Regions from separate parts of the Homo sapiens genome. Here region 2 is linked to region 1. Evidence: promoter capture Hi-C in 16 types of primary human blood cells and fetal thymus (Javierre and others, 2016). All regions are on one chromosome and are shown on one strand. The core of a region is centred on a gene start or on the middle of the fragment in contact, and the rest is flanking DNA. Distances in the headings are between cores, read along the strand shown.

Region 1 (2,772 bases), core at 110-2,609:
CCTGGCCTGAGGCCTTCTCTCTCCCTCTTTGCCCTGTGTCTCTGCAGGGAAGCCCGGCCCTGCCCCTGGGAGGGTGGGGGCAGACGTGTGGAGAGTGGGTGTACAAGGCCAGGGTTTGCCAGGCCCAGGACAGCCTGGCACCTGTCAATGGATGAGCGCCTCTCCCTTAGCCTGATGTCAGGGTGGGCATGAGGGTGGGAGCAGAGGGTGCCTAACTGAGGAAAGGGTCTGTGCAACCCCCTTCTCCTACCAGTTCTCGTTTCTGAAGTCTCCTCAAGCACACTGCGGTGTCCACACCATTGGCAGCAGGCTCCTTCTCTTCAGGTGGTCTTAGGAACTTCTCAGAACTTTTTGAGTTATCCTTCTGGTCTCTTCCTCCTGAGCACGGTTCTCCTGGTTGAGCTCCAGGCCATGCCATTCAACGCCCTCCAGGACAGGCCGAAGGGCTTGTCTGTTTGGTGGTTGCTAAGGTTTGAAAAAAGCCAGCTGGAAACTTAATCCCCAAAGCAACAGTGTTGGGAGGTGGGACCTAATGGGAGGTGTTTAGTCATGAGGGCTCCACCCTTATGAATGGATTCTCTCTCTCTTGTTCTCTCTCTCTCTCTTCCCGCCCCGCCCACCCCTCCTTCCCCAACCTTGTGATACCTTCCACCATGTCATGGCAAGAAGGCCCTTGCCAGATGTGGCCCCTCCATCCTGGGTTCCCAGTCTCCAGAACCATGAGCCAAATGCATTTCTGTCTGTTACAAATTATGTACGGTGTGGTTTTCTGTGATGAACACAGTGCTGTACCAGGGCCCTCTTGCCAAGACAGCCAGCTTATAGGAGCCTGCATGTGAGGCCCGGACGTCCTACAGAGCAGCAGTTAGAGGTCTGGCCTTCTGGATAGGCACTGCCCTGCCCTGCACACAGGACCTTGGTGGGGCATGATGGGGCTCTTCACCACGCTGCCCTCATTTTAGGAGGTGGGCAACCCTTTCTCCCCCTTCTCCATGTGCTTCTGCAGTTGGAAGAAGTGAGGGGGGTTCAGACACACTTAAGCTGAGCTTAGAGCAAAGCATGTCCCTCAAGGTGACCTTGCCGCATGGCCTGAACCTAGAATTCCCCTGACCAGGGTGGACAGCCATCACCATGGGCCTTTCTGCCTGGCCTAGTATGGCTCTCCTTCGAACTCACCTAGACCCTTGCATCAAAGGACTCGGGGACTCTGCTGCAGTCATCCTAGCACGGTCGAGAGGAGTAGGAAGGTGCCCAGCGGCTCAGCCTTTAAGGAGGTCTATTGGTCACCATTGCTTCTGCCTTCTTGAGAACCATCACCCTCGGAGGATCCGGTAGTGTATCCCAGTCAAGTGTCAAATGCGTTGTTCCCTGGAGAGGAAGGCTTATTTCCAGAAAGTACTCTGACGTTTTGTAATTTGTGATTTCTATCACTGGCTCAGTGGCCTACCCACTGCTCAGCTCATGTGGCATGACCAGGCTGGGGCGTCGGGTCATCTTGTTCTCTGGGTGTGTGGCAACACTGGTTTATGGCGTAATTTCCTTCCTGAGAAGAAATTCAGTAATTTCTAATATTCAGGGCTTTAGGTAGAGGCCTGAAAATCACTCTCCATGCCTCTTTCAGTATTTTATATATAGTTGTCTCTTGGTATCCATGGGGTTTGGTTCCAGAATCCCCTGCAGATACCAAAATTTGCGAATGTTCAAGTCCTTTATATATAGTGGCATAGTATTTGCATATAACCTATGCATATCAGCCAATCATAGATGGTGATTTAAATCATCTCTTGATTACTTCTAACACCTAATACTATGTAAATGCTTTGTAAGTAGTTGTTACCTGGCATTTTTTTATTTGTTTTATTTTTGTTGTTGTTTCATTAATTTTATTTTATTTTTGGAATATTTTCAGTCCATTGTTGGTTGAATCCACAGATGCAGAAGCCTTAGACACAGAGGGCCGACCACACCTATGTATGCTGTTCTTAAAGTAGCAACATATTTGTTCTGAACATAGAAGAAATTAGTCGTCTATTAGACTTTAAGGGAGTAAATATGGTCCAAGTTGATTTTTAAATTTAGCAAATAGTCATAGACATATCAGTGTCTTACAGAAAATATTTATTGGAATGCTCACTCTCTCATTTGGGATACTGCTTTGCCTTGCTGTGTCTTAAGAATGTCATCAGAGCATCACACACTTGAAAAACGTTTTTAAAAGGATATGATGATAATTAAGACCTTCTCCCCAACCCCTGCCCATTATCCAAGATCAATGTTTTTTTCCTTTATCCTGATTTTAAAATCAAGTACACTTTATTGAGGCATACTTTACATGAAGCAAAATGTACCCTTTCTAAATATGATAAGTTTGATGAGTTTTCAACAGATGTATACAGCTGTTACCATGACTGTGTCTTTACCCAGGTTCTTGCATTGCTCAATCCAGATACAGAATGTCTCCATCACCCTGACAAGTTCCTTTGTGCCGCACCCTCTAGCCAATCATCTGTTTTGAGGAGAGTTTTAAAACAAAGGTTTTTGTTCTTTTTCACTGATGACCATAACCTACCACAGACAGGGTCTCTCTCTCTCTCTCTCTCTCTTTTTCCCTGTTCTTGCGCCAGCTGCCTGACAATTTGTGGGATTAAAGCTCTAAGCTGCTTACTGGCTCTTCTGACTAGGGAGAGGGAGCAAGCCTCATTATTTTTCTATTCTTTTCAGTGACTGCTCACTCCTCTTCCTCCAAAATCCCTATCCATCCATCCATCCATC
Region 2 (2,772 bases), core at 162-2,661, 110 kb after region 1:
AAAGCAGACTAATACAGATGCTATGTGCAGAGCATTATCTAGATGCTGGAGCTATGACGGTCCACAGAACAGACAAGGTCCCTGACTTCATGAAGTGTACTTCCTAGTGGTGGTAGTGGAGGGAAGGAGAGAGATGGACAATACATAAAATAAGTAAATACAACATGTAGATGTTGATGATATGCATGGTGAAGTACAAAGGAACAAAAAAATAAAGCAAAGAAAAGGAACTGGAAATAGGGAGGAGGGAGGATTTCAGCTCTAGCAACCAGGGAAGACTGAAGAAGGGGGAGAATGCCATGGCTACTTCTGGAAAACAGCACTCCAGGCAGAGGAGAAAGTGCAAAGTCCTGGGGGCAGCAGCTGCTCATCTTGTTGAAGCAACACTGCAAAGGCTGTGATAGGTTTCTTCTGGGGCTGGGTGAGTGATCAAGGGGGTGAGTAGTGTAAAGTTCAGAAAAGTGATAGGGTCAGATCATATAGAACTTTGTAGGTCACAGGAAGGAGTTTGGGTTTCATCCTCATTGAGACAGGGAGCTGGTGGAGGCTTGAGCAGAAAGTAGCTAACCTGATCTTTCTTACAACTACTAGGAGGACTCACTTGGGAGCTGTGTGCACAGAACACTGTGTGGGGACAAGTGTGGAAACCAGAGACCTCTCAGGAGGCTGTTGCCATCATCCCAGTGGGAAAAGGTGGGAACTTGGGTCTGGATGGAAGACCCAAAGTGGTAAGAAAATGGTAAGATTCTTTCTATATTTTGAAGGCTCAGACAACAGGATTTCCTCAGGGTATTAGTTCCTTATGGATGCGATAATAAATTACCATAAGCTTAGTGGCTAAAACAATACAAATGTATGGTTCTGGGGGGCATAAGTCTAAAATGGGGAAACGGGGTCAGCAGAACTGTGTTCCTTCTGTGGGCTCTGAGGAGAATCGCTATTTTTTTTTTCTTTCTGAGACAGAGTCTCTCTCTGTTGCCCAGTCTGGAGTGCAGTGGCATGATCTCTGCTCACTACAACCTCCGCCTCCCAGATTCAAGCAATTCTTCTGCTTTAGCCTCCCAAGTATCTGGAATTGCAGGCGCACACCACCATGCCCAGCTAATTTTTTATTTGTACTTTTAGTAGAGACGGGGTTTCGCCATGTTGGCCAGGCTGGTCTTGAACTCCTGACCTCCGGAGATCCATCTGCCTCAGCCTCCCAAAGTGCTGGGATTACAGGCGTGAGCCACCGTGCCCGGCCTATCTGCCATATTTAGAGAAAAGGAGGCATCAAGACTGACTCCAAGGCTACAGGAAGAAGCTGCCTCTAACCTGGATAAGGTAGACTGTGAGAGGGACAGGTTGGGGAACAGCTATCCTTAGCTTACTTTGGAGCAATTCAGGATTGAGAGACCCCTTAGAGGTGACAGTGGGGGGACAGGGCTCTAGATGGCATCTAAAGCCACTGGGCCACTGAGATCCCCTAGGGAGTGAGTGTAGCTGTTGACAAGAGAGTCTGGGGTCTGGACCAGGGGCACAGTGACACTCAGACACCAGCCAGCAGTGGTGCCTGAGAAGGGGGGTCAGAGAGGCTCAAGAGCCACCAGGCAGGTGGGGTATTCTGGAAGCCAACAACAGAAAGGGCTTCCCAGAGGAGGGAACCAGCGCTGCTGAAAGTCAGCTTGGGAAGAGCCCTCTGTGACTAGCGCTGCTGAGAGGTCAGCTTTGTGGGGACAGGGAACTGAGTTTGGATTTCCAAGTTTGGCAGTCCTTTTTGACCTTGGCAAGATAAATTTTGGAGAATTATTTAGAAGTAAAAGCCCAATTGGGAGCAGAAAAATGGAAGATAATGAGTGTAAGCAACTCTCTCAAGAAGTTGTGCTGTGAGGAGAACTGAGAAGTGAAATAGTACATGGAAGAGGAAGTGGGAGTGAGGGGAGGGTTTCGTTTGGTTGAAGATGGGAGAAGCCACCCCAGGCCTGTCTGCAGGTTGGGATGATCCAGGAGAGAGGAAAGCTTGATGACCGGGGCTGGGAGGGGGAGAGAATTTCTGCAGCCATCTCTATGGGAAAGAGAGAGCACCTGGTACATGAACAGAGAGGCGGGTCCCAGGTGGCAAAGCAAATCTGTCCATCGACACTGAAGGAAAGCAGCATGTACCACGGATACCCTGGGCATCAGTGCATGGGACGATGAAATATTGGGGCAGGGCTGGTGAAAGCCACTTGTGTTCATCTCCATCTTCTCAGTAAAAGAGGAGTCTGAGTGTGAGGATGAGGAAGGTGGCATTGAGTGTTGAAGGCAAGAGAAGAAAATGTGAAGTGATCTTCTAGGAATGTGGGAGAACAAATGGACTAGAAAAATATAGGAGGATTATATATGCACACCAATGTCATATGAGTATCAATGTCATATGAGTATCAAATATGTATACAACATGCAAATATATGTATATATATTAATGTTTACATGCAATTACGATATATACATATGTTAGTAGATATAAGCAAATATATTTATATGTCTTATGTATAATATGACACATGCTGCAACATAATTATAATCTATAGTATCTAATATGTACTAGATGGTATATGAATATATGTTCATACATCATACATGAATATAGCAATATAGGCAGATAAGATATGTTACAATGTATTATTAAATTGTGTATATTATATGATGTGCAATAAAAACACAAGTATTTATGACTTATCTGTCTCCTCCACTCTATCCAAAATATATGTAATGCACGTTATAAAACATAAAGAGAAATAGGAATTTTTA

What was found. The method cuts DNA at HindIII sites, captures the fragments that hold promoters and counts their contacts. A CHiCAGO score of 5 or more calls a contact.
Region 2: a contact is called between a fragment that was not itself captured here and the fragment with the promoter of KCNE1 in region 1, in 1 of 17 cell types (neutrophils). The highest score is 5.3, in neutrophils.

What each region holds. Positions count from the first base shown.
Region 1 is chr21:34,510,851-34,513,622 of GRCh38, forward strand. It overlaps KCNE1 (potassium voltage-gated channel subfamily E regulatory subunit 1), which reads right to left and starts at 1,360. Exons shown (of 4, transcript NM_000219.6): 1 at 1,177-1,360; 2 at 251-465. The HindIII fragment of the contact is 14,180 bases long and covers 1-2,772 here.
Region 2 is chr21:34,621,780-34,624,551 of GRCh38, forward strand. No RefSeq gene overlaps it. Among named protein-coding and RNA genes, the nearest start is that of RCAN1, 8.1 kb to the left of the region's middle. The HindIII fragment of the contact is 1,169 bases long and covers 828-1,996 here.